3 separate regions of the Homo sapiens genome follow, and all the other regions are linked to region 1. Evidence: promoter capture Hi-C in 16 types of primary human blood cells and fetal thymus (Javierre and others, 2016). All regions are on one chromosome and are shown on one strand. Each heading gives the region's core, a stretch centred on a gene start or on the middle of the fragment in contact. The rest is flanking DNA. Distances are from core to core; before and after follow the strand shown.

Region 1 (4,113 bases), core at 1,186-3,685:
AACTCTGCTTTTAAATGCTCCCACTGCATTTGCATATGCTTCCAAGGTATCAGAACTGCATATGCATCTGTCCATTCTAGAAAAGGGTAAACTCCCTAAAGGCAGAAGCTATGACCTACAGCTCACTGCCTTCCAAACACAGGTGCTCAATGAAGCCTTAAGCTAGTCCCACTGACACTGCAACCTATCCCTATGGACAACTGTTCATTGTAGATGTGCTAAAGGCCAAACATGTATGAGGCTGTGGGTGAGACCACATTACTTAAATGTGGAAGGGACCCTTCCAGAGTTGCTTCCCTGGGACTCAGTTTCCCTTTCATGCAACACTTTTTTACTCATGCCCACTTGGTGCCAAACGTTATGCTAAGGGACAGAGATGACCAAACAGTACTGTTGTTCTGAAGGAGCTTGGGTCTGGAAGAAAAGGAACCCCTTAAGTACTTACAAGTCCATTCAGCAGATGTTAGATGGCAGTTTCTACAAGGTGCAATGCAGGGGCATGGAGAAAGAAAATAGAAAATCTGCCTGGGGCGATCAGGAAAGGCAACACTGATGAGAAGCAAGGAATGACTAGAAAGGGGTAAAGAGGGGAGAGGCTGAGAGAAGGATGCTGCAGGCAGAAGGAACAGCCTGGGCAAAGGCATGGTAATAGCATCATTGGGCACACAGCATCATTGGGAAATGCAAATTGAGTCATTCAGCTCCGAAGGAGCATAATATATACTGTGGGGAAAGCTGGGAATGGGGCTATGGAGGCAGGGAAGCTCTGACTTGATCCTGTAGGCAGTGGAGAATTGCCAAATTCAGATTTTGAACAGGACTATGATACCTTTGGAGGGGGTGGCATGAGACCGGGAGATCAGGGGGCCTTTGGAGAGAGGAAGACTGAACTAGAAAGCGAGGTTCCACATAAGCACACTGGAGGCTTATTTAAGGAGGCAGAATTCACAGAGCTTGGTAATGCCTAGATGTGGGCGGTGAGGGAGAGGGGGCAGCAGGAAAGGAATCCCCCGTTTCTGACCTTGGAGGGCTGGGTAAAAAGGCAACATAGGAGGGGCAGGTTTGGGGGCAAGGACAAAGAATTGGGGATAAATTGAGCCCCTCTCTTGCAAATAGCAAGGATTGCGTACCAAATAAGCGAAAGGATAAGATGAGGGCCCTAGGGACCCTTCCTGAGGAGGCAGCTGATCTGTACAGGGGACCGGGGACCCACCCCCATTCCCAGCCCCTCACCGTGGTGGCCTGTGAGGCCCCCAGAGTGAGTTCCTTCAGCAGGTCTCGGGTACTGAAGCCCTCCTCCACCATCACAAAGTCCGATTCACTCAGGTAGCCAGCCATGCCTTGCAGGAGGAGCTGACGGGCTGGATGGAGCCGCTGCTGCAGCCGCCGCCTTAGAAAGTATGCAACACACTGCGGGGCGAGGGGAGATGAAGGGAACCGCTGGGGGGCCGGCTCTGCTGCCCCACTCGCCTCCCGAGGCCAGGGATCCCAATCCCGTCACAACCCGCCCCCAGCACAAGCCCGGGGTTCACTGGGCAAGGGTGGAGAAAGTCAAGAATCCCGGATTTCAGACGGAGACAAGGCACCGTATGCCCAAATGTCACTGCCTCTCCGAGTCAGTTGCTCCCTCTGTAAAATGGATGAATTGTTTTGGAGAGCCTTCCCAGTTCTGAAATTCTGGATTTCAGGAAAGAGTGAGAGAGAGATGGAACAGAAAATCTGAGAAACTTGGGTGGGGAAGTTTCCAGGGCGCCCCCAGTCTTGACCACGCCCACCTAGAGGGTAGCCGGTGGCCACATCAAGGCGTCTCAGCCTAAGAGCAAGAGCTTAAGTTCGAGTCCGCTCTCTACTGCTTGACCTCGGGTACCCTCTGACCCTTTCGGAGCCGCAGTTTCCCCAATTGTAAATGGGGGCTGGACTGATCCTGAGGTGCTAGAATTCTAGGCGTGCCTGGGGACGCCACGCGGTGGGTGGGGGCCGCAAGCTCCTGGGAGAGAACGGAAGGCCGAGGTTTTTTCTGTCCGAGTGACTCCTACAGAGTGCAGGGCTGAGGTCCCCCCAACCCCCAGGGCCCCTTACCAAACTCCGTCCTCCTTCGCGGGGGCCAGAGCCAGGCGCGCTGCTAGGGGGGGTCGCCGGTGACCTCGAAACTTGTGCAACACCCCGAGGAGGAGTGGCAGTTGCGGAGCCGAGGCCTCTGCTGACAGGAGGCAGAAGGGGCAGGGAGGCAGGTCAGCACCAGGGCGGAGGGCGTCCGCTCCCCGAGGCTCCCCAGGCCACTTTCCGCACTCGCCTTAAAACGCATTTACACGGCTTCGGCCCATAGGTCTCCCCAGGGAGTGAATCGGATCCTCGGCGCCTCCGCTCTCTCGCTTCCCCGGGCTCGGGTCCCGCGGCCTGCGCCCCGCCAGCCCAGCAGCCACAGACCCCCACGCCCCGCCTTCCGCCCGCCGCTGGCTTATATAACCCCGCCCAGGCCCCGCCCATAGTGCCGAGGCCCTACCTCCGCTTGGCCGTAGCCCTGGCAACCGGGTGCCGCCATCCCATTGGTCGATTCCGACATAAAGCATTCAGCTCTGCTCGCCCTTACTGTAGTCTTCTCCCCCGGAGGCCTGGCGGTGGCTACCTCACGCTGGAAGTCAGAACTACAGGGCCGCCGCCACGCAGGTGAGACACTTAGACCCTGCATCTTAGGTCTTAGAGAGTGGGCAGGACCAGGAAGCCTTTTCTGCCTCTGCCTCAACTTACTTCGTGGTCCAGCTCTTGTCTGCGTCAGGAACTGCTCACTCATCTCTCGAAACCCGGTTCCAATGACATGTCCTTGTATTACTTTTGTAATAAAATTCTTTTTATTTAATTGCCTCTTCCAGGCATCTTCCCCGACTCCAACTCAAAACGCATCTAAAATGTCTTCAGAGAACCTTTTTGTGACTTTCCCAGTTCAGGGCAATCCCTCCCTTTATCCCATCCTGTGAACCCGGCAAACTCTTACTCATCTCTCAATAGAAATGTGTCTCCTTCTCCAAGAAGCTTTCCCGGACTTCCTCAACTCAAAGCATTTCTTCTATACCGAAAGCTGCTGCTCACCCATCAAAGTCCTGTATAATGTCACCTCTGTTGAACCTTCCATGACTTGCCTGGCCCCAAGGAACACAGCATTTAGTCTGTCTGGACCCCTCACTCATTTGGTTCTTGTTACCCATAGCGTGAGATTCCTGTTGTTATTTTACACTTCTTGTTTGGTTACACTTTGCATCTAGTTTGTGATTTCCCAAGGGCAAGGACTGAATACCCTGCTCAAGAGCCTGGTGCCTGGCATAGACAAGAATGCTGAGGAAGATTCAATAGCTGTGTTACTCAAAAGCTGATATAAAAGTTCATCTGGAAAAGTAAGTGTACAAGAACAGTCAAGACACTCTTTTTGCCCAGGCTGGAGTGCAATGGCACGATCTCAGCTCACTGCAACCTCTGCCTCCTGGGTTCAAGCGATTCTCCTGCCTCAGCCTCCCAAGTAACTGGGATTATAGGCGCATGCCACCACGCACAGCTAATTTTGTATTTTCAGTAGAGATGGGGTTTCACCATATTGGCCAGGGTGGTCTTGAACTCCTGACCTCCAGTAATCTACCCGCCCCGGCCTCCCAAAGTGCTGGGATTATAGGCGTGAGCCACCGCGCCCGGCCAAAACTACAGTCTTTAAAACAGTATGGTGCTGGAGCAGGAAGAGACAGTGGTAAAACAGAACAGGGTCTACAACAGTCCCATATACATTGGAGATTGGTACACAATGGAGGCAGCATTTCAAATCAATGAAGCCAAAGGGCTTTTGGTCTACCATATGTCTTCATGTCCCCTGCTAGGCTGTGGGCTTTTTTTTTTTTTTTTCTCTTTTGAGACAAGATCTGGCTCTGTCACCCAGGCTGGAGTGCAGTGACATGACCTCAGCTCACTGCAACCTCCACCTCCCAGGCTCAAGTGATCCTCCAACCTCGGCCTCCCAAGTAGCTGGGACTACAAGTGCATGCTACCATACCTTGCTGATTTTTGTATTTTTTGTAGAGACAGGGTTTCGCCCTGTTGCCCAGGCTAGTCTCAAACTCCTGAGCTCTAGCA
Region 2 (4,113 bases), core at 825-3,324, 900 kb after region 1:
ATCTCTCTATGCCGTGGCCCCCACATCCCTGGCTTTGATTAGACTAGAGTGACTTGCTGCTCTGAGAAGTACCGTTTTCCTTTGAATCCTGGCAGAACAGACTGGCCCAGAGAACGTCAAGTCCAAACTCCCTCTCCTCACCAGCTTCACAAAGAGCCGCCCTCTGCTCACCCAAACCCTTGGCTTTTTTCTTCTCCTGTGGCCTTCGATGGTCTCGGTCTCCGACCTCGTCACTCTGCCGGATCTCTTCTGTGTTTGGATCCCCCTTGGAGGGTTCCTTCTCTCCATTGACTACTGGAGTTGGTTCAGGCTCCCCATTCCTTGCCACATAGGTCCGGGACTTCTCTGCATCTTCGGGTTCAGCCGGCTCACCCTGTGCCCCATCCTCGCCGGGGCCCCCCTGGTTATTGTCCACACAGTATGTGCTCAGTATGTCTTCCAGTTGGCGGCTCAGCTCCTCAGAGACATCACGAAGGGCCCCAGACTGAGCCGTTCTGGCTTGAGCCCCTACAGCAGGAGAGGATGAGGGGTAGAGTGAGAAAGAAGACGATTATACCACTGGTTGGGATTTTTCAGGCCCAGCCAAACTCATCAGTTTGAGTTAAATGTTGCCTAACTTTTTTTTTTATGGAAACTGAGAAGCAAGAATGGAGTATCATTCAGCAAATCTAGTTCCTGTCAGAATTTAGATTCGAAACATCTTTTAAATCAAGAAATTATAGTAATCGTTGCCTAACTTCTTTAAGTCTGTTTACTTGTAAAATGACACAACTATTTCTCACTACCACCCGAACATATTTGTTAGATCATAAAAGTATGTAAAGCATCAGCACACAGGGATGGCACGGAGCAACTTCTAGTCCATCTCCTTCCCCCCCACAAAACCATTTCTTGCCATTCAGATCATTCTAGAAATGCCTCAAACAGGAAGGGCAGTTAGCTGCTGGTGGCTGAGGTGTTTCTAACGGGACCTGGATTTCCTGACTGGGTGCCTCGTTTGGCTGCCACCTGACTTAATCCCGTCGGAGCTTCTCTCCAGAACTCTGTTCCTGTGCTTAGAGGGGGCAGCTCCGCCAACTCGCCAGAGCGCAGGGGGGACCGCGGCCCCCAGCACTGTCCTCTCATTCTACATCTCCTCCTCCCGGACAACCTGGCCTCGGCCTGTAAGTCCAGAAGCGAGGCCGACCCCACAGCTCCTCCCCCTGCCCGCTGGCAACGCAGAGCTGGCACACACCCTCCGGCTTCCGAGGAGCCTGGCTGCTGCCGGGACCTTCTGCTTCTACTGCAGGAGCCGCCTGGCTGGGCCGCTCCTGGGCTCCCTCGGGTCCTGCTTCCGGTTGTCCTGGGCTGCTTTTTGGATTGGATTGTTTGGCAGCCCCGTTCTTTTTGTCTTGGTTCTTCATTGTGATGAGCGATGCTGGGTCAGGAGAAGATCCTTTAGAAACAAACACAGTTGCTATTTTCCAGACTTCGAAATTCTTCGCAGCCTGGATCAGAAATCCCCACAGCAGGCGCACAAAGCTTCTTAAAATAAACGGACCGGCAGGCCCGGGCGGAGGGCGCCAACGGCTCTCTGGTCTTGGCGGGTCAGGAGAGCCCGACGTGCCGGGGCAGGCTTTCGGGGCGCAGCTCCCACAGCGGGTGAGGGAAGAGGCCTCTTCTCCCTGGAGCCACTTCCCGGCACAACCGGCCCCCTCGCGGCAGGCCGGGCGCGGGATTGGCTCAGGGCCGGAGACTGACGTGGCGGGACTCCCGGCACCGCCCCCGCCCCTCAGGCCCCACGTGCGCCCCCCGCGCGCGCAGCCACCCACGCCCCGCGCGCCCTCAAGCCGCGAGGCACGCCCGCGCATGCGCATATCCCCAGACAGCCCCCGGCCCACGCGGGGAGTTGGCGTGATTTCCCCACAGGCCGAGAACATCCCGGCCCGCACACTCTCAAATAGTCTCGCCCACCGGCCGCCGCTGCACGTACCTCACCGCCGACGTCCGATGGCTTCCCCACCTCTGGCCTCGCACCGGAAACCCCGAGTAACTGCTGCCGGCCAGCCGCCTGCTCCCGCCTCAGCCAATCAATAGCCGGCGCCGGCGCGGAGCTTGCTGGGAAGGACGAAGCGAGGGCGGCCTCGGAGGCGGGCGCCCCGGCAGGGCGGGGCAGGGAAAAGACTACGCGTCCCTCTTTACGCAGGGGCTAGCCGCAGATCCCAAGGTGCATAAGGGACTGTAGTCCTGGGAGTCCAAAAGGAGCCCGTCATTCTGCACGAGTGCCCATGTCAACCTTGTTTCTATCTCGCAGAAGCTATGCTTCAACTCCCAAAGCCTTGCGCCTGGCTGTTGTTTCCTGCAGGCCTCCATCAAACCTTCCTCCCTGGCCGTGAACAAATGTGACTCCATCCGGGAACTCCGAGGACTCGGGAAGAGGGATAGAGTCCTGGGCTGAGACTCAGGAGACCCATACTCCAGTCCCAACTTCATCACGGATTTGCTGTGTGGCTGGACGTTCTGTTCTCTCTCTGGGCCTCAATGTCCTTCTTCCAAAGGAGGCTTTTAATAACAATAGCAGTTCCTTGAACGCTTACTGTGTGCTTTCCCGCTATCTAATAGCTTGGTTCTCATAACCACTCATAGAAATAACTACTATCTGTTATCCCCATTTTACGGAAAAGGACAGTAAGAGAAAGGTTAGGTAACTTATCCAAGGTCATATCGATAGTGAGTGGTTAAAACAGGGATTCAAAACTGGTAAGTCTGAGACCAGCACCCAGGTAATTACCTGGTCTTTCACCCAGAAGAAACACTACCACAGCAGGTTTCCCTGAGGCAGTCAAGGTAACTTGTGAAAGTAGGTCATATTTTCCCCTCTCCATTACCATTTTGGCAGTCAGTTCCTCAGAAAGGTGCTGAGTTAGGCTTCAGGCATATTCATGAGCCTTTTCTCTACCCCACACTCTACAAAGTCTCACTGGGGTTAAAGTAGAAAAAACCCCCACAGTTCCCTACACATGAGATCACAATTCTGTATCCCCATTGCTTCTGGATAATGAAATCAAACCCAACAATCCTTGTGCCTGGAATTTGAAGCCTAAGAGATTTGACTTTTGCCAAACCCAAAATTTTTTGAGGCCCAGTTCAAAGGTCACTTCAGAGCCTTCCCAGTGCTCTGCAAACCGTACTTGCTCCCTAGGTCTGCAGAGTTGTTACAGCATTAGCAGTGAGGTGTTGAAATTACTATTTACTTATAAGTCAGTTAATTTTGCAAGAACTGTTGGCTAAATAGTCTAGTCCCAGAGCCTCGCATCAGGCTGTGGGTAGAGAAGATTGTAAACTGTTGTGCTAATTGAGCGTTGGTTTAGGGCTGTTAGGATGTTAAATATTTCCCCCAAAGGCTCAGTGAAAGACTTCAGAGCCGTGCATGTTGGATTTCAGATTTTCAGATTGGGGAAGCTCAACCGGTAAAATTTGAGAAAATCCCAAATTGGAAACACTTCTGGTCCCAAGCATGTTGGATAAGAGATATTCAATTTTTAGTATAATGATGGAACTGAGGCTCAGAAAGGTTGGAATCTAGATGTCCTGAAACCAAGGCCCTGATTATTTCTAGAAAAGCATTCTGGAAATCTCTTGAGAAGGCACCATATAAATCAGGCCTTGATAGATTTCCATATAACAAGGGTGTTCTAGGTGAGATAAAGAACATAAAAATGTATGCATGGGGTGAGGGATAGAGGATGTAGTAGAAGGGTCAACAATAGCCTAGAGGGGCCAGTTGGGTAATGAGAACAGGCAAGAATAATTGACAGAAACATAGGTTAACAAGTTACTTTCTCCTTTGCTATAAACAATATATAGCAACAATATTAGCACCTGCCAGAGTGAGGGAGAGGTGGTGATTGCAGTAAAATACAGCAGCTCTTGCACATTGTTAGCAAGCAGAAACTCAGGCCGGGTAGGGCCAGATTGTATTTTTGTTTTTTAGACAGGTTTTACTCAGCTGCTGGGGCTGGAGTGCAGTGATCATAATAGCTCACTGCAGACTCGACCACCTGGACTCAAGTGATCCCCTTGCCCCAGCCTCCCAAGTAGCTAGGATTACAGGTATGTGCCACCACAGCCAGC
Region 3 (4,113 bases), core at 945-3,444, 560 kb after region 1:
AGCTAATTTTTGTATTTTTAGTAGAGACAGGGTTTCACATGTTGGCCAGGCTGGTCTCGAATTCCTGACCTCAGGTGATCTGCCCACCTCTACCTCCCAAAGTGCTGGGATTACAGGCATGAGCCACCACACCCAGCCAAGAGAGATTTCTTATAAGGAATTGGCTCATGGGATTATGGAGGCTCACAAATCCAAATCTGCAGTGTGGGCAGGCTGGAGACATAGGAGAGCTGACAGTGCAGTTCCAGTCCACAGAGTCTGCTGGAGAATCCCCTCAGGAAGGTTGCTCTTTGTGTTCTATTTGGGACTTGAGCTGATTGGATGAATCCCACCCATGTTATGGAAGGCAATCTGCTTTACCCAAAGCTCACAGATTTAAATGTTAATCTCATCAAAACACCCTCCAAGTTGACACACAAAATTGACTAGCACAGGTAATTATCTACTAAAATGGAAACAGGGCTCCAAAGAAAACAGGAATACAGCCAGGCATGGTGGCTCATGCCTGTAATCCCAGCACTTTGGGAGGCCGATGTGGGAGGATCACTTGAGCCCAGGAGTTTGAGACCAGCCTGGCCAACAAATTAGCCAGGCATGGTGGTGCATGCCTATCATCCCAGCTACTCAGGAGGCTGAGGCAGGAGGATCACCTGAGCCTGGGAGGTTGAGGCTGCCATGAGCCATGATTGCACTACTGCACTCCAGCCTGGGGGACAGAGTGAGACCCTCTCTTAAATACATAAATAAACAAACAGGAATAGCAAATGTAGCAAATGGCAAAGACAACAGGACCAGCTATTACCTTTAAGGTTGAAGGAGAGTACTCAAGGAAAGAAGAAACTTGCAAGAGGACTTCCTTTCCCATGCCCCACCAAAGACTGGGATTTAGACCTCTTCAGAGAGGATATGTCTGCCGCCTGCTGGATGGTGAAGTTCATTGAGGTGCCACAGGTGTGGGCTGGAAGATCTGTGGCCACCCACCAGGGTGCCAGCAAACTCACTGCAGGGTGGGCACCATTCCCCATGGAGCTGTACTGTAGGATGAAGAAGAAAGTTGCACTGAAGCCGGGCACGGTGGCTCAAGCCTGTAATCCTCGCACTTTGGGAGGCTGAGGCGGGTGGATTGCCTGAGGTCAGGAGTTCGAGACCAGCCTGGCCAACGTGGTGAAACCCCGCCTGTACTAAAAATACAAAAATTAGCCAGGCATGGTGGCGGGCTGAGACAGAAGAATTGCTTGAACCCCGGAGGCAGAGGTTGCAGTGAGCTGAGACCACGCTATTGCACTCCAGCCTAGGCAACGAGAGTGAAACTCTGTCTCAAAAACAAAAAAACAAAAAAAAACTTGGCCTGGCGCAGTGGCTCACGCCTGTAATCCCAGCACTGTGGGAGGCCGAGGTGGGCGGATCACATGTCAGGAAATCGAGACCATCCTGGCTAACACGGTGAAACCCCGTCTCTACTAAAAAATACAAAAAATTAGCCTGGCGTGTTGGCGTGAGAGCTGTAGTCCCAGCTACTTGGGAGGTTGAGGCAGGAGAATGGCGTGAACCCGGGAGGCGGAGCTTGCAGTGAGCCGAGATCGCGCCACTGCGCTCGAGCCTGGGCGACAGAGCGAGACTCCGTCTTTAAAAAAAAAAAAAAAAAAAAATTACACTGAAATCACTAAGCCCCTGCCTCTGCTATTGCAGTGTCCCTCTGGCGCCCTCTATTGACAGGGCCTAACATTGCTCTAGCTGGGAAAGAAGAAATGTTTATAGAGTCCAGCTGGTTGCACAAAGCAGGGCAAAAAAAGCTTAAGTTTGAAGTTAAGTGATGATAAATTGATAATTTGCATACATTTGAGGAATAAATGAATGTCTTCATCACCAAAACTGTAACTAACTAGGAGGATCATCGGTTATCTGAGATATTCAAGTGAGAAAAATATTTAAATTTAATAAAGAAAGATGTGGGACTCTTCATTGGAAGAAAAGGGGAAAATAGGCGGTTGGACAAACCGCTGGTGACCAGGGAGATAAAAGACTAATAGAAAGCAAAGAGGAGGGGCCTGGTGCGATGGCTTGCGCTTGTAATCTCAGCCCTTTGGGAGGCCAAGGCAGGAGATCGCTTGAGCTCAGGAGTTTGAAACCAGCCTGACCAACATGGCAAAACCCTATCTCTACAAAAAATACAAAAAATTAACCAGGCGTGGTGGTACGCACCTGTGGTCCCAGCTACTCGGGAGTACTACTTGAGCCTGGGAGACAGAGGTTGCAGTGAGCCAAGATCATGGCATTGCACTCCAGCCTGGGCGACAGAGTGAGACCCTCTCAAAAAAAAAAAAAAAAAAGCAAAGAGGAAACAAGAAGCTGGAACAGATACCTGTGAATTTGTACCAGCTCTTTAACAAATGTAATGATCTTACCCTCATCTTACTCATCTCAGAATTAGAAACTTATACTTTATATGTTTATTATTCCAGTGACTATAGTTCCCATACCACACTTCAAAACACATCATCTAACAATAACTGCAGTCATGCACCACATTTTGGTCAACAATAGACTGCATATACAACAGTGGTCTCTTAAGAATATAATGGAGCCGAAAGCTTCCTATTGCTTAGTGATGTTGTAGCTGCGGTAGCATCCTAGCACTGCGGTGACACTGGTGTAAACAAATCTGTGCTAACAGTCATACAAAATTCTAGAACACATAATTATGTACAGTGCAGAATACTTGATAATAAATGACTATGGGCTGGGCACAGTGGCTCACCCCTGTAATCCCAACACTTTGGGAGGCTGAGGTGGAAGGATCACGAGGTCAGGAGTTCAAGACCATCCTGGCCAACATGGTGAAACCCCATCTCTACAAAAAATACAAAATTAGCTGGGCATGGTGGCGCGCGCCTATAATCCCAGCTACTCGGGAGGCTGAGGCAGGAGAATCACTTTAACCTGGGAGACAGAAGCTGCAGTGAGCTGAGATCATGCCACTGCACTCTAGCCTGGGCAACAGAGCGAGACTCCATCTCAAAAAAAAAAAAAGTTACTGGTTTGTGTGTTTAAATACTATACTTTTCATCATTATTTTGGAATGTACTCCTTCTAGTTATATTTTTAAAAGTTTTCTGTAAAACAGCCTCAGGCAGGTCCTTCAGGCGGTATTCCAGAAGAAGATACCATGATCATAGGAGATGACAGCTCCACGCGTGTTATTGCCCCTGAAGACCTTCCAGTGGGACAAGATATATAGATAGAAAACAGTGATATTGGTAATCCTGACCTTGTGTAGGCCTAGTCTAGTCTAGTGTGTGTGTGTGTTGGTGTGTGTGTGTCTTAATTTTTCACAAAAAAAGTTTAAAAAGTAAAATTAGCCGGGTGAGGTGGCTCACGCCTGTAATCCCAGCGACTTTGAGAGGATGAGGTGGGCAAACTGCTTCAGCTCAGGAGTTCAAGACCAGCCTGGGCAACATGGCAAAACCCTGTCTCTACAAAAAGCCCAAAAATTAGCCAGTCATGGTGTTTCAAAAAAATTTTTTAAATAGGAAAATGCTTATAGAATAAGGATATAAAGAAAGAAAATATTTTTGTACCGCTGTAGAATGTGTGTTTTAAGCTAAGTGTTATTACAAAAGAGTCAAGTGGGTTTTTTTGGTTTTTGTTTTTTATTTTGAGACAAGGTCTCCCTCTGTCACTCAGGCTGGAATGCAGTAGCTTGATCATGGCTCACTGCAGCCTCAAACTCCCAGGCCTAAGTGATCCTCCCCACTCAGCCTCCAGAGTAGCTGGGACTATGGGCGCTACCATGCCCAGCTTATTTTTTATTTTTTGTAGAGATGGGATCTCACTAAGTTGTTTAGGCTGGTCTTAACTTCCAGGCTCATGCAATTCTCCGGCCTCAGCCTCCCAAAGTGTTGGAATTACGGGCTTGAGTCACCACACCTGGCCTAAGAAGTTTTTTGTTTTTTGTTTTTTTTTTGAGACGGAGTCTCACTCTGTCGCCCAGGCTGGAGTGCAGTGGCGCGATCTCGGCTCACTGCAAGCTCCGCCGCCCGGGTTCCCGCCATCTCCTGCCTCGCCTCCCGAGTAGCTGGAACTACAGGCACCCGCCACTACGTCCGGCTAATT

The links. Contacts are between HindIII fragments. The CHiCAGO score rates a contact against its expected background, and 5 or more counts as called.
Region 2: a contact is called between the fragment with the promoter of TXLNA here and the fragment with the promoter of AZIN2 in region 1, in 5 of 17 cell types (naive B cells, total B cells, non-activated CD4 T cells and 2 more). The highest score is 7.8, in naive B cells.
Region 3: a fragment that was not itself captured here is called in contact with the fragment with the promoter of AZIN2 in region 1 in 3 of 17 cell types (naive B cells, total B cells and M0 macrophages); the score reaches 6.3 in naive B cells.

What each region holds. Positions count from the first base shown.
Region 1 is chr1:33,079,475-33,083,587 of GRCh38, reverse strand. It overlaps AZIN2 (antizyme inhibitor 2), which reads right to left and starts at 2,435. Exons shown (of 12, transcript NM_052998.4): 1 at 2,294-2,435; 2 at 2,080-2,200; 3 at 1,776-1,987; 4 at 1,234-1,410. The coding sequence starts at 1,338. It overlaps LOC105378635 (a long non-coding RNA gene), which reads left to right and starts at 2,592. Exons shown (of 3, transcript XR_947163.2): 1 at 2,592-2,667; 2 at 3,261-3,389. RefSeq lists a silencer at 2,214-2,473. The HindIII fragment of the contact is 16,354 bases long and covers 1-3,032 here.
Region 2 is chr1:32,177,636-32,181,748 of GRCh38, reverse strand. It overlaps TXLNA (taxilin alpha), which reads right to left and starts at 2,074. Exons shown (of 11, transcript NM_175852.4): 1 at 1,973-2,074; 2 at 1,235-1,435; 3 at 172-507. The coding sequence starts at 1,403. RefSeq lists enhancers at 1,071-1,120, 1,131-1,290, 1,411-1,490, 1,378-2,136, 2,137-2,896 and silencers at 1,691-1,870, 2,011-2,200. The HindIII fragment of the contact is 3,390 bases long and covers 1,524-4,113 here.
Region 3 is chr1:32,518,197-32,522,309 of GRCh38, reverse strand. No RefSeq gene overlaps it. Among named protein-coding and RNA genes, the nearest start is that of ZBTB8A, 19 kb to the left of the region's middle. RefSeq lists enhancers at 911-1,030, 1,081-1,130. The HindIII fragment of the contact is 798 bases long and covers 1,796-2,593 here.